Regions from separate parts of the Homo sapiens genome. Here regions 2 and 3 are each linked to region 1. Evidence: promoter capture Hi-C in 16 types of primary human blood cells and fetal thymus (Javierre and others, 2016). All regions are on one chromosome and are shown on one strand. Each heading gives the region's core, a stretch centred on a gene start or on the middle of the fragment in contact. The rest is flanking DNA. Distances are from core to core; before and after follow the strand shown.

What was found. Contacts are between HindIII fragments. The CHiCAGO score rates a contact against its expected background, and 5 or more counts as called.
Region 2: a contact is called between a fragment that was not itself captured here and the fragment with the promoter of LBH in region 1, in 4 of 17 cell types (total B cells, naive B cells, monocytes and 1 more). The highest score is 10.9, in total B cells.
Region 3: a fragment that was not itself captured here is called in contact with the fragment with the promoter of LBH in region 1 in 1 of 17 cell types (neutrophils); the score reaches 5.6 in neutrophils.

The regions. Positions count from the first base shown.
Region 1 is chr2:30,229,592-30,234,606 of GRCh38, forward strand. LBH (LBH regulator of Wnt signaling pathway) reads left to right here and starts at 1,943. Exons shown (of 3, transcript NM_030915.4): 1 at 1,943-2,173; 2 at 4,814-4,916. The coding sequence starts at 2,148. RefSeq lists enhancers at 609-1,124, 1,125-1,639 and silencers at 1,443-1,992, 2,193-2,282, 2,673-2,872, 2,883-2,942. The HindIII fragment of the contact is 3,135 bases long and covers 355-3,489 here.
Region 2 is chr2:31,216,867-31,221,881 of GRCh38, forward strand. It overlaps CAPN14 (calpain 14), which reads right to left and starts at 649. Exons shown (of 22, transcript NM_001145122.2): 1 at 590-649. The HindIII fragment of the contact is 1,687 bases long and covers 1,969-3,655 here.
Region 3 is chr2:31,171,378-31,176,392 of GRCh38, forward strand. It overlaps CAPN14 (calpain 14), which reads right to left. Exons shown (of 22, transcript NM_001145122.2): 22 at 1,679-3,330. The coding sequence ends at 3,304. Among named protein-coding and RNA genes, the nearest start is that of GALNT14, 35 kb to the left of the region's middle. The HindIII fragment of the contact is 4,969 bases long and covers 1-4,757 here.

The DNA.
Region 1 (5,015 bases), core at 693-3,192:
CTCCCCACCCTCTTCTCCAAAATGAGGCCATTTTGACATTTAGATATTTGGGAAAATGGGGAGGGAGGGAAATAGCTTTCTGAGTTTTGAAAGCTTCACATGGCAATAATCACAAACACATAAAGTGTGTCTGTTATGTGTAAAAGTGGCGCAACAGTCTTTGATCCCAGCCTCACCAGAGATTGCTACTGGGAAGAAGTGGCAGAAGGCTTCATCCTGCCCACCCGGGGTCTAGCCCAGACATTTTCCTCTGAGTGCCTGGAAGTCTCAGCCTGGAAACTAGCTCTCCAAGCATTGGCGTCTCCTGTGGCTGCCTAGATGACAATGTGCCACACCTGGCTAGTGACACTGAGAAGCTTCCCCACCCTCTGTGCAGGACATCAACAATAACCCCATCCCTGCAGCATCTCCCGTTTAGCCCCTCCATCAGGCAACACCCCCAGAGGAAGAGAATGCGTTTAGCTTGGGAGGTGGGGGAATTTCTCTGGTTGGAGGGGGCAGCCAGGGGCTTGTCATGAAGCTGTGTTTTCATAGGAAGCACACTATTTTAACTCAGGTTGTACATATAAGCATATAAGTGATTGAAAATAGCCCAGTTATTTTTAAATAAATTATTCTCATCAATTCTTATAATTTTTGTTTGGGCTGGTTTTGCGGGGACTGATGAAAATTATGAGGGTCTTCTCTCACGGCTTCCTTCAGGGTCCTACCCCTGTCGAACCTTCGCCATTAATTCTGTCATCCTTTTGCCTGAGATAAGCTATGCGTTTCCACTTTCAAGTACATATATACGGATTCAATACACTCACTGCCTTTCTTTTAAAAAGCTGATTCACTTCAAAGCCAATTTAATTTTGCTTAGTTTTTGATCTCCCCGCGCCCCCTTTCCTCAGCCCCTATACACAGGTAGGTGAGGGTTCTAAAGCCATTTTACAGGCGTGATTGAAGCGGAGGCCACAGAGCGGCAGCGCTGGGTCCCGAGTGAGACTCCCATCATGTGGCTCTGGGGGGCTGCGCAGCTTTGACTGCCTGGACAGACGCCCAGAGCTGCAATTCCTGGGCAGTGTGGGAGGCGTTCGGCTAAAGCTCTTTGTTTCTGCTGTCATGAGCGACTCCTCGGAGAAGACGTGGGAGTCAAGGATGGGGGGCGGCGTGCACACCGCCCGCCCACACCTTCTGCCCCCGCTGCAGACCGGGCGTATGTGTGTCTCCAATGGAAAAATCCTACCCAGGACGACACCACATCCTTGCTCCCACAAATAAAACCTTCCACGGAACTCAGGGCTGCAGACCAGCCCTTCGCAAGCCAACGCGCCCCGTGGGCACTCGGTCCCCCGGCTCCGCGTCTCTGCCACCTTCCCACCGCTTCTTCTTTAACCATGCTCTTGTTTCCCCTCGCTGATCGCAAGGCTGCGGGCGAGGATTCCAGAGAGAGGCCTAGTATGGGGAACAAACGCTTCAGAGGGGTCCGAGGTGGGCTGGGGACAGCCAGTGGATGGGAAGGAGGGCGCTGGCGCCGGGCGGCTGGGGTGGAGGAGTGGCGGGTGCCCTACCCCGGCGCAGAGCAGCCGCCGAGCTGTCATGTCCCGAGCGGCCCCCGCGCCCTCCTTGCGCCCACCTCCGCCGCGCTGGAGTTCGGGGTGTGCGTGGAGGGGGCTGTGAGCGGGAAGCGGCGCGGACGCGGAGTCCGGGCCGGTGCGAGTGAGCGCGTGTGCGCGTGGGAGAGCGGCGGGAGGGGGCCGGGCTCGCAGCCGCAGCGAACCACGGCCCCGGGAGCAGAGCCGAGCGCGCCCCCGAGCCGCCGCCCGCCGGAGCTGCGAGCGCTGAAGCCATTCATGATTTTGGTGACGTTATTCCAGGAGTGGGCGAGGGAGGGCGGGGCCTCTCGGGGCCAAGCCCCGCCCCCGCCCCTATAAATACGGCTTCCCGGGCTCTTTGTGGGGCTGAGTGCTCAGTGGAGAGCGGGGAGTTGTGTCCACCTTGCCGACGTCGCTAGCCGTGGGGCTGTCCTGGGAAGGCGGACGGCGAGCGCCCGGTGTCCGCACTCGGCCGCCTGCCGTGCCCGTCTGCGCCCGTGTCATCCTCACTCGGGACGCAGGGACCGTTTTTAAATCACAGGGGCGTGTGTCAGCCTGCCCTAGGACTTCATGTCTATATATTTCCCCATTCACTGGTGAGTACCCTGCGCCTGCGGCGGGCGTCTGTCTCGCGGCGGTGGCTGCGGGCCCGGGCGCCTGCTTCGTGCCGGCTCCGGGTGCGAGGGCAGCCGGCGGCGCGGGCGCTCAGCGCTAACCCGCCGCCCGAGCCCGTGCAGGAGTCAACGTCAAGGTTGCAAAGGTGGGGGTGGGGGGAGGGGGTGCTGAGAACATCCAGACAAAGGACGTGAACTCGGAGCCCTCACCTAAGTGACGGCCGGAGGGTTTGTATTGGTTGGCGGGGGAGCCAGGGGTCACGTGTGAATCCCCCCCAATGAAACCACCCTATGCGGAGAGCTGCAGGAGGCGCGCGCCCCACTTGGCGCAGGGGGGCTCCTGCTCTTCCCGGGCCCCTCCTCTTTTTCTTTTTGTTTGCATGCAAGTCTCAACGTCGAGGCCGGCAGCAGCGGGGCTGAGCTGGTGCGGCCGCAGGGTTTGCAGAGCTCCGGGGGGGTGGGGGGCGGGAAACGCTCTCCCCACACGTAACCCCACTAAAGCCACAAGCAGCAGGGCACGCGCTGCAGCCTCTCAACCCCTGCCCTCTCCACCGCCCCTAAAAACCGACGCACATTGGTGGGGGCCGGGACTGGGAGGAGCCGCCTTCGCCGTGCTGAAGGGGAAGGAGCCCGGGCCGGGCGCGGGGCGTCGGAGGTTTGCCCCGGACTGGGGATCGGAGCCGGGAGGGATGCAGAGAGAGGCAGGCCCCTGACTGCTGGGACTTCCTTGCTGGCAGTTTCTTCCTTCCTGCTCTGGGTTAGAGGAGAAGCGGCCGGGGGCGAGCGCCGGCAGCCCCGGAGCGCGCTCTCAGGTGCGGACGTGGGGAGCTCGGCCCCGAGTCTCCGGCAGGCGCTGAGCGAAGGGAAAACCGGCGCAAGCCGCGGCGGGGTCCGGCCTGGCCCAAGAAGCGGAAAGTTCATGCTTCTCGCTTCAACTTTTCGGGCCGGCGCCACAGCCCCGAGCGAGGAAGAGCCGCCCCTACGTCAGACTCTTCACCCTGCGTGCGCTCTTCTGGCTCCTTTCTTTGGAGGTCGCCAGCAGCCTTTCCAAGACCCGGGAGGAAACTGCCTTTGCAGGGCCCAGCTCCCGAACCTAAACTTGCCGCAAAGCCCCGCATCTTCTGTTAGTCTCCCTGCCCCCATCCGTCCCAGCCTGGCAGTGTTTAGAGAGGGGACTGAACTTCCCTCTCTCAACAGTTCAAGTTCCCCCACCCCGAGGCTTGTGTACCCTTCTTGTGGGTGCCCCTCCCTTGCCTCTCCCGTGGTGTGTGAGCAGCTAGGTGCCTTATTATAGGTGAAGCTTTGAAGGCTGTTGGAGGCTTTGTGCCTTTGGCTGCTCAAAATTTGCCAAGGTGGGTGTTTGGACCCATTAAGAATATTATGAGAAATTAAGGTTTAAGTTTATTTCATCGATTAGCACTTTGCAGCTTGCAATGCTTTTATGCAGACATTAGCCCTTAACCTAACTGTGAGGTATGCACTATTAGCATCAGAGTAACAGACAAACAGGACACTTGTGGCTCAGAGAAGTTACAGGACCTGTTCAAGATCACACAGTTCTTGAGGGGCAGAGCCTAGAACCTATTGCTTCTGTTTCTAAATCCAGTGTCATTTCTTATCTATGTAGTAACCATACAATTGAAGAGGCATCTGGTACCCCTGTTTCCTTAGATACTGTCCCTCAAAAGACTCCCCCATATTTTTGTTTTAAACCATGTGCACAGGCACGATGGTGGAAAGCATTGGGTGCTGTGTAGCAGGTACCTGTATTTGGTGCTTATGTTCAGCATTATGTGCACGGGATCCTGTATGTGCCCAGAGTTTGTGCAAGGATAAGGGAATATTCGTATCCTGCTTAGAGAGTACAAGGCACTTTCACATGTCAGCCATTGGTGGGCCAGCTTGGCCCCTCTGGAAATTTCCTTTGCAGTCAGAGTCGGGTATCCTTAAGGCTTTTAATCCAGGGGATGTTTTTCAAGCTGTGAGCATGCAGCTGCTGTGTCTGGGGCTAGAGAAAGGGGATGGATGGCAGATGTGAAACTTGCAGAAAAGCTGACCCCTTGGGGCTTTAAGTGGAACATTTTGCCAAAAGGAGCACCAGAGAGACAAATTTAGGAAAGCTGTATGATTGGACTTTGTTTCCCTCCAGTTGACCTGTTATTGTTATTGTGTATTAATAATATATAGAGTTCCCCTTTGGAAAGTTCATGTGAGGATTATTTTTATTCTTAGTTGGAGAAGTGAAGGGAGATGTGGTTGAATTGGTTTTAATATAGACAGATGGACTCAGCTACCTACTGTTTTGGTTTCTCTGGTTCTGTCATTTAAAGAAACATTCAGGGTCCCTCTGTGCCAGTGGGGACTAGAGTACAGGAGAGGAGGGAAGAGGTTTGCCAGAGAGGTCTGCAGACAATGGGCTTTGTCTGTTGCGGCTGAGCCCTGGGGCTGTGGGCTTGCAAGGCGCTTCCTCAGGGTGTGAGCTTGTTTTGCTGCAAGTTCTGTTTTGAACACCTCTCTTCCTGTCTCCAGACAGTCCCCTGATCCCACAGCAGTGAATGCATGAAGAGTTAGGAATGTGAAAGCGCGTGTGTTTGTTGACTTTTGGTCTGGGTTTCTTGGCAGCCCCGACTATCTGAGATCGGCCAAGATGACTGAGGTGATGATGAACACCCAGCCCATGGAGGAGATCGGCCTCAGCCCCCGCAAGGATGGCCTTTCCTACCAGGTGAGTAAGTCCTGGCTCCCCTCTGACTCTCTAGAGCCTAGTGGTTTTTGCTGGGGGTGAGGACAGACTTGGTTTTGCATCCCAGTGCCACATATAAGA
Region 2 (5,015 bases), core at 1,562-4,061, 990 kb after region 1:
AGCTATCATTTGAGGCAATATTTCACTCTTATAGTGTGGTCACCGTCCCAGTGTGTTTTTCACATCTAATTTCATACAGGAAGTCAGCCCAGCCTCACTGCTTATCAGAACAGAGAACAGTCGGCCTCCTTGACTCTGAGGATCCCATAAGGCCTCAGTGATAAGCTGGCTGCCCCCAGATTCCTTCTCATCAGGAGGCTCAGGAGACAACTGGGATGGCCTATGTTCTGGGAAATGACAGCACCTAGCAGCATCAGTAACTCTACCAAATGACTTCGAGAGAAACCAGAGCTGGAGGGACCTCAGAAATTACCCAGGCCCAAAGATACTCCCATCTTTTTTTTTAAATGAGGAGATTGGGGCCAAAGGGCTGAAGTCTATTCCTCAAGGTCACACTAATAAGTGATGGCAAAACTGAGGACAAAATTGAAATCTCCAGACTCCAGGGTTTTTTCTGTATACACTCACCTGCAAAGCTCAAACCAGGAGAAGCAAATACCATCCTCTCACCTTCTAAACCCAGACCCTGTAGAGTCTCATAGGGCCTCTGGGCTAACTTGGACCCACCCTTGGAACTAAAGAAATTTACCTGCACAGGAGATTTTGCTTCTTTAAGCGCCTGGGCAAGCTCTAATCCCGGTGCAGTCAGAAGCATGCAGCCTGAAACCACCTCTTATATATGGGTCCTTTCTACACATGGTGTTTAGCCAAGAATTTGCGACCCCACCTCCCAGGACCTTGGTTCCTCCCCACTGTGTGTTCTCTGGAAGGGAGTGGAGTACCCAGGGCTTTGCGACTGGATTACACAAATCCAATTATTTCTTTAGAACACCATACAGAGAAAGCCTGTTTCAGTAATGCCTTAATGAGAGAGAGTTAGTCATCTTCTCACTTCCAACCCTGGGGAGGGTACTTTCAGGTGTGACCTAGAAAAGCATTTCACTGCAGGAGCACATGATACTGCTTGCTCACCTCCCCACAACTCCCAGGACACCAAAGAACCAAGACAGAGATTCCTGTACATCCCTATGTTTAAACTAACATTGACAGAAGCCTGGAAAGTATTTTCAAGAGGTGGCTGTGGGTTTTCTTTTATGGTTGTCAGAGTCTGAGGCAGCCCTCAGGGATGTTTCCTGCTAAGGAGGAAATCTGTGATTCATTTGTGCTATTGAGATCGCTCCCTCTTCCTTCCCAACCTACTTTCCAAATCCCCCATTTTGGCCATCTGGGACTCAGAACATTGACCTCCCACTGGTTGTCTCCTCACAGTTCACCTTGGGTCCCGTTGCTCCAAATCTGGTTGTTCTTCCCTTAAAGCATTTCTTAGCCCTCCTGTGGTTGCTCTAGACTTCTTCACTCCCTCCCCACCCCCACCCCCAAATCCTTCTCCTAGGTTCCCACCACCACTTGCACAGATTTCCATCATAGCAGCTTAGTTGGTTCCAGCTTGCCTGCCTCCACGCTTGCACACCTAGGATCCCCAGAACCCAGAACCATGCCTAGTACCCAGGAGGTGCTCAATATGTGTCAGTGGAATCAGAGTCCCTTGCCTGTGGAAATCCTCTGTCCTCTTCCTCCCCGCCTGCTTCTTGGCCTCTGCCTTGACTCTAATCTCTCCAACTCAATCATTTTGTGTGATTATCACTCCACCCATTTTATTAGTACTGATAAATTAACTAATATTGATAATAATAGCCAACACGTTTTGAGCACTTATGACATGCCAAGCACAATGCTAAGCACATTGCATGCAGAATCTCATGGAATCTTCACAACTTTGTGAGGTAGTGCTATTATTATCCACATTCTACAAAAAGAAAACGGAGGCACAGCATGGCAACTCGCCCAAGATAACCGCAGCCAGTAAACAGCAGAGATGGGGCTAAAGTCCCAGGGTGTCAGGTTCCACTAACTTCTCCTCATCTTTGTCAAGGAATTGTCTCCCTGCCACTGTCAAATCAAATCCAAAGCTTTCTTCCTGAGCTAAACGCTCTTTGGAGCCTTCCCCCTGCCTCATGTGCCAAATAGCCACCCTTCCTCGCATGGGTCTGAAGGTGTTATGAGGATAGCAGAAGCAGTGGATCTGGGAAGACCATTATTATTATTATCTATCTCCCAGACATAACCTTTTCATTTTCATCTCCTCATCCTGGCCCTTAGTTATCTTCCCCCTTCTATTCATCATCTTTTCAGGGACTCCAGGTGGGGGGCTTCCGCTCATCCCTTGGGACAGCACCCTGCACCTGGCACAGGGTTAGGCTCACTCTATGTCTAAGTTGTTGTTATGGTCACCACTGGGCTTACCATAAATTGTGCTGCGGATTCACAGAGCCACCGAGACGCATAGGGTAAGGCCCAAGGGCCATTTCCTCCCGTGACAACTCTTGAAAGTTATTGTCCTGGGTGACAGGAAACAGATGGCCGGGGAGCCTTGCACAGCAGCACTGTGGCCTTTTAACATCTCAGAGGTCATACATCCCTTCCCCAGGCTTCCGACTGTCACCCAGGACAGACTAGTATGCCTGAGAAAAAGGCAGTGAAGGCAAGTGCATCTGGTGATGAGCCTTCTGTCTCTGCAAGGCACAGGCAATCCTGACCCACAGTGGGCTGTGGACCAGAAGTGGGTTGGCAAGTTTGTGATTTATGACCAGAAATTTACTTTCCCGTGGAAACAAGATTTTAGGAGTGGTGAAGCCTTTCCCAGAAAGGCTTTGATGGGCTTCACAAGCTCAGGAGCAGTAGAACCGGAGCACTTGCTAGAGTTCTAAGTCCTGGAGGCAAAGAAGAGGGAAATGCATTCCTCGGCTGGTGGCACAGTGGAGTATTGGAGAATGAGGGTTGGCTTGAAAGTCAGAAACACAGATGTAGGTTCACTAACTTTGTGAAGCTGGGCAAGCCATTTCCTCTTTCTGGGACTCAATCATGTGAAACACAGTTGTGCTCGTCATCTCTCTACTTTCTGTTACAACATATTATGATTCTGTTTGGGACCAGCCTTGAGCAAACATTCAAAGGAGGTCAAATGCGTCTGTGGCACCTTCTAATGTCCTACTTCCCACTTCTTCTAGAAGAGTCCAAGTGCCCTAAATAATCTGCCTCTCCCACAAACCTAATTGCTCTCTAAAGTTTCTCCTTCCTTTCCCTCTAATCAAAATTCTCATTCCTTCAGGGCACGGGAAAGCAATCAAATTGAATTCCTGATGTCTCACTACTGTGTGAATAGCTTCCAAGTCCTTAACCTCACCATAATATTTGCATTTTTTAAAATAGAGAACTCCTTTTCCAAATGAATCCCTGATTGTTGGAATTTGGGGCACTGAAATAAGAAGTAAAAAAATCCAGTTGAGGAATAAAATAGAGTACTGAGATAGTAAATAATGACTGCTCCAAGGTGACCCTTCATGGGCACACAGGTTATTTATGGGGTTTCATTAGACTCACGTTAAGGAACAAGTAAAACTGTTTTGTATCCAACACAACTGTAAATAAGAAAAACTACTGAAATGCCTATGGCTAAGCTCTAACCATTGATTCTCCCTTTGCCAACATAAGAGTAAAGCGAGAAAGTCATGGGGTAGCATTACCCTGGCCAGGGTTACTTCTGGCAGCCCCACAGACAGGGGATGTCAGGCTGTGGTGGCTGCAGCAGCACCAAAGCTTCATAAAACTAACTGACGGCCAGGCATGGTGGCTCACGCCTGTAATCCCAACACTTTGGGAGGCCGAGGCAGGCGGATCACGAGGTCAGGAGACCAACATGACCAACAGCCTGACCAACATGGTGAAACCCCAACTCTACTAAAACTGCACAAATTAGCTGGGTGTGGTGGCACACATCTGTAATCCCAGCTACTCAGGAGGCTGAGGTGGGAGAATCGCTTGAACCAGGGAGGCAGAGGTTGCAGTGAGCCAAGATCACGCCACTAACTGACAAGTCATGCTATTCCTTGATGTTTTTTTCCACCTGATTTTTGTTCGTTTGGTTATACATTTTCAAAACCAGGATCCAACAAGGAGAAGAGAAGGGCTTTGATTTGTGAGTGGGAGAAAAGACAATAACAAGTTCAGAAGAATGAAAGGAAAAATTGATGATTCCATATATAACTTTCAAGCATTAGAAATTTATCCAAGAACCGAGATAATAAAAAGAGGCTTTGTGGGGTAGCTCATAAATGAAAAGTCATCGCCAAGGTTTCAAAGTAAATTCCAAGACCTAAGTTATTAAATCCTTCACATTCACAATATTTTTAGAATGTCACAGAAAAATATTCGTTAAGAAATTCACTATGAAGTTTGAAAAATAAACACAGACAAGCTATTTTCTCAACAGAAGGGTGTTTTCCTAAGTTATCAGAGAGCTAATTAAAATTTCAAGAACATTTATTCATAACAAATAATTTGAGTGAATTCTGATTGACAAGGACTGCTCTGTCTGGGGAGGGCTTGGGGACAGGGCTGTGAGCCATGCCAATCAGGGAGGCAAGGCAGGTACAGTGCATGTTTCTTATTTTCTGCCTCTATTTTAATTGTGTACTTGGCATTGTTTAATGGGTCCAAATCAATACACTACTAAGGAACATATTTCTAACCATTCTCTTCTTGACCCTTTCTTTGTTCCTGATATCATTTTCTCCAAGTGTCTCACAGTTTTACCTGTGTTCATCTGCCTTTTTGGGGTTTGGTTTTTTTTTGGTTTACTTTTGGCTTTGTTTTCCTTCTGACTTGTAAACTACCTATCTTTCTTGGCAGAAAATGTATTTGTATTTGCCATTATGATGCTCATGACAGGGAACACTGATCGCCAGGGAGAACAGCGTGGTTTCTGCATTTCCTTCCGAGAGACGGTTGCAAGGCTTCTGTTTCATGTCATTGGGGTATAGTCGGAAAGAAGCCCTGGTGGTAAATAAACCATGACTAATTTCAAGGATACAAAAGTGAATAAGACATTGCGACTGATGCCCAGAAGATGCAAGAAAAGAGGGACAAAGTGCCTTGAAGTCAGCAGCACCCCAGCC
Region 3 (5,015 bases), core at 1,023-3,522, 940 kb after region 1:
ACCTAATTCCCAGCAGAGTTTCTGGAACAACTGCAGGTCAGTACTCAGTCTCTCGGGGTTGCTTGGTCTATGGTCCCGAAAACCCCTAGCTGGCAACCTGGAGCTCTGTTGAATAAACGGGCTGCTTCTGAGGTGAGAGGGAAGCAGAGGACAGAGCTTTAATAACGAGATGGCCACTTTCTCAGAGATCCCTGCCCCTGAGTCCCTGCATTGGAGACTGGAGTGGCCCTCCTGGTGCCCCACTTCAAGGAAGTAGTTTGATACATTCAGAAAGAGGATGTGGAAGAAGATGAGGAAAAGAGAAATAGAGCATAAAACCATGGGTGTTTCACTATGTCCTCTAAAAACCAAAATAAAAATAAGTAATAGTAGCTGTAGAAATTACTTGTTCTACCTCAGGGGAAAAATTGGAGCTTCATTCATTGGGTGCCTACAGCCTGCTGGCATTATCTAATCTTCACAATGACCCAGGAATGGAGGCATTTGGGCTCCATTTTACAAATGAATAAACTGAGGTCCAATGTCACACAGCTAGAGTGCATCTTCTCACCTCTCTTCTCTTTCATTTCTGTTGGATTTGGTAGCCTCTCTGTCCTCAGGACACTGGAGAAAAGATGGTAACCCAGGACCTGAGACCAGTGACCCCAAAGGACCATCTTTGCAGAGATCCTGAGAGCTTGATACACAGCCTGCTTCTCCATGATGCCCGCTTTTACCTACTCATCACCCACAACACTCATTTCCTCCTTTCCTTCATTATAAATCTAAATACATATACTTCATTGGGGAAACATCAGGTTCAAAATCCTGGAAGCCAAAATCATTTCTCTAACTCAATACAGCAATGGCAGGAAAACAGTGCTATTTACAGTCAGCCAGGAAGTGCCTTGCTCCAGGCCACATCTGCAATCTAGAAGGTTCTCTTTGGATAACTGAAGTTTTATACAAAACATGAAAGAAGAAACAAGACCAGGGATAAATAAATGGTAGGTATTTTCATCTCCTCTTGTTCAGGTAGAGTCCTGTTTTCCTGAGATTGTGACAGCCTGGAACAGGCCTCACTTTGATATGCTTTCCCTGCGTGGGCTGGACTTGACAACCCAACCTCTGGATTCCTTGACCTCACCCTCCTTGGCACTGGCAGGTGATTTCTCACTCCTCCTTGGCTGCACTTTCCACTTTTTCTTATTCATGGCAGACTTTCTGCTTTCGATATTCCAGAACTGCTGATGGTCAACTCTCAGCCCTTCAGCTGACTTCACCCTGGTGCTTGCCCAGTTTCTCCTGCCCCAGATCTCTATTTTCCCGCCCCTGCTTCCCCTGGAGTGACAGAAGATGGGGAAGCGTGGTGGGAGTGGGGAGATTGCTCTGCCCCCTGGTCTTCAGTACTCAGCTTTGGGGGTATAGGAGAGAATCTGGAGGAAGGGTGTCAGCAAAGACAGGTCATCTTTGAGTTGCCACAGTGCAGATACCTAGACTCAGGAGAGTGAGGCTAGCACCTGAGTGATGTAGGACCACTCAAACCACCCACTGAGAAGTCACCAGAGGGGCTCTCAGGCTTAATCAATGTGGAGATAGATCTATCTGCACCAACACAGCCAGCACACTATAGTCTAAATGTCATGAGTAGGATCATGGTGTCACCCTCCCATCACCCAAAAATATCTCCAAAACTGCCTTCAGGGGCCAAGGCAAAATTGGTTTATTAAAACAGCTATTTGCAATGGCAGATTTTAAAGACAAAGACACAAATAAGTCAATGGATATAAAAAACTGTAAAAGGCTGTAAATACATGATCATCATTTATAAAATCAACAACATCTCATGTATCTGGCACTTTATGGAAACCCATTTTACATTTTATCATTTGGAATAAATGAAGGGTTTTTTTTCCTAAATAAAATACTTTCCTACCCCATAAGCTACGCTTTCAAAGTGCTCCTTTCTTCTGGTACAGTACCCATCTGACAGGTGCTCAAATCTCCTTTAGTCCTCTGCCAATGGACACACTTTTATCTCTTCATTCAGCTTCCTTCCTGAGTCTGCTATGGAGTTGGAAATCAAACAGCCATGTTTGTTAGAATTGTTTGTAAATTAAGATTAAATAGAATACAGGTTGACTATCTCTTAACTAAAATGCTTGGGACCAGAAGTGTTTCAGATTTCAGGATATCTGCATTATAGACTTGTCAGTTGAACACCTCAAACCCAAAAATTCAAAATCCAAAATGCCCCTATTTCCTTTGAGTTTCATGTCTACTCTCAGAAATTTTAGATTTTGGAGTATTTCAGATTTGGGGTTTTCAGATTTGGGATGCTCAACCTGTAGTAATAAATGGCTCTGAGGTGCTAACTTATGAATAAATTGCATAGACTTTGGAAAAAGGCCATTGTTCTGGTTTTGCACCTGTATTCTTGGTTGAGAGGGATGACATAAACAAGGTGTTTCATGGTAGTTCAAAAAATCAGATATACCAACCACCCACTGATTGACTCTATAATTTAGCATGGGTTTGTTTTTGTCCTTTGAAGTAGATAGACAGAGAATTTCTGGACAGATTTGAAATGGATCTGATAGTCTATATATCAAGCAAATAGACACACCTGTCACAAGCAGGAAGCCCTTTGAGAACTCAGGTGTTTTAAATCTACTAGGTTGCCCCAGATCCAATCATACGGAGATATTGTCAGAAGAAGACTACCCCATGACCTCAGATGCCAGAGCCAGCCCACCCCACCTGGACTCTGCCAATTCTCTTACTGTCTGTGTTTCTGAAAGCCCACTATATCCCTGACCCCATCCCCAAACAGCTGAAACTTAGCCTATGTCTCTATCAATTTGCAGATGCTGGGACTAAATGTCTAAGGATATATCATTCCCATTTCAGACCTTAAAACCTAGATGATTACCCCACCATGTGAGAACATGTGGCATGTCTAAAGTCACTTGAGTTTGCAGCCACAGAGGCAGTGTTGTATGGAGGCTAACCACACCAGCTCTGGAGTCAGAATGCTTAGGCCATGTCAGGTAACATCTCCGCTTGTGACAAGGTTGTGGCCTCAGGGAAGGATGGCTAGCTTTTACAAATCTGATGTAATCTTTACTTCCTCCCTTCCCTTTCTGCATGCTGGCCATGCACGGGGAGGGCTGCAGAAGAGAAACCTTCCCAGCTGAGAAGGTGACGGCTAGTGAGGCTGTCCTGAAGATCAGTAAGTAGGGTGGGCATGGGTTGGTCTCAGCCAAAGGCTGCTCTTGGGCCACATGCAGAGTCTTCAGTGAGGGCAGGTGAGACTCAGCCTTCTCAGGAGTACAGTGCCATCATCATCCACTGGACATGTTGGGAAAGCAAATGATGGTCAGTTCAGACCCACGTCTCATCTGGGCCTCCCCATCCCACACTCCTGGGGAGCCATGGAGACAGAACATTAATGGATGGTTTAGCCAGAGGGAGCATATCATCCATTAGGAAGTATAAATCAACTTGAAATATAATCAACCTTGACTTCTCACGGTGCCTATGAATGATGACAGTCAAATACAGGCTGATTCTGTATTCAGTTCTCAATGAATTTTTTTCCCATGAATTCAATTTGGCATGCTTGTGCCAGCTCTGTGCAGGTGTGCAAACTGGCAGGGTAGCAGAAATCCATTAAAGCATATTCTACACGTTTACATTTATGGGGCCCTTGGTCTGACAGCTTTATGTGGGTTTGATGAACAACCCCTCTAACTCATATAGAGGGGACCTCTGGGGAAACCACTCCCCAGGCCAATCCCTCAGAATGATAAAGCTGAGAATAGTGAAGTTACCAATGGTGTCAGAGAAAGCCTCAGCGTGAAATCCAACAAGGTGGCTGCCATTCCCTGCAGACCTTGGGTGGTCCTGATCCTCACTGAGCCACAGATGGTCAGAGCTGGAGGCAATCTCAGAGACCATCTAGTTCCACTCATTTCACCTGTGGGGCAGCTGAGGCCCAGAGATTTAATGTAATTTGCCTAAGGCCCCACAGCTAATTACAAGAAGTGTTGTGGCTTCAACCCAGTTCTCAGACCCCAGTGCAGTTCTCTTCCTGTGATAGCTCTTTGCCCACTGGACCCTGCTCAGTTTTGGGCTGTCCTATTTCAGGTGCCACATTTGTGTTGTCCTATTCTCCTAGACCTGAGCCAGCCACTGTGGAAGGATTGCCTGGGATCAGGAGCGATGCCCCAGTACTCAAGTGTGGGGCTAAGCAGTCCAGGGATAGGCCCTGAAAATTCTGGCCATTGGCCCTCCAGTAGAATCCCACTTCACATCAAATCTTGGAGGGATTGAGGGGTGACACAGGCTGCAGGTCCCTACAGCTTGGAAAGCAATTCCATAAAATGGACATTTGAGATCAAGAAAAACATTCCAGCTTTGACTGAATCATTTCTAAGTGGCCATAGCAGAGGAAGGGTTGCAGAATAAAAGAGCAGAGGATTGAACTCCAGAGTCCAATGTCCTTGCAATGAACATTACCTAGCGCTACACCTGGCACCTAAGCAGCTGCTCAATAAATCAGTGCATTTTGAAGGATCAGGGAAGATAATCAGTTTCATACATAAATTTGTATTCTCCTAGGCATATCACTTCATTCATTCAACACATCCTGCTGTGTCTGCAAAGTGATATTAAAGAGGAGGAAATGGGCTTGGCCATTTGACTTGCTTTGGACAACAGAATGACTTGCAGGCGTGCCAGATTGGAGCCTTGGTTTCAGAGGCCTACTGTGTTTAAGCTTGCTTGCTTGTGTTTCTCCCATTTCCCTGGGAAGAACAAACCTAGGCAGAGTTTCCTCAGTTCAGGTACCCAGCAAAACCCTCAGCCAACCCACAGATACATGAGCAAGCCAGCTGAGATCCACTGACTCCCAGCCATGTGACTCGGAAGCTAAATAAGTGCTTGTCATACATATGCTGCTGAAGTTTTGTAAATTTGTCACATGGCATTATTGCAATCAGAGTTATTGGATACACCTTTCATATGTGCCTGGC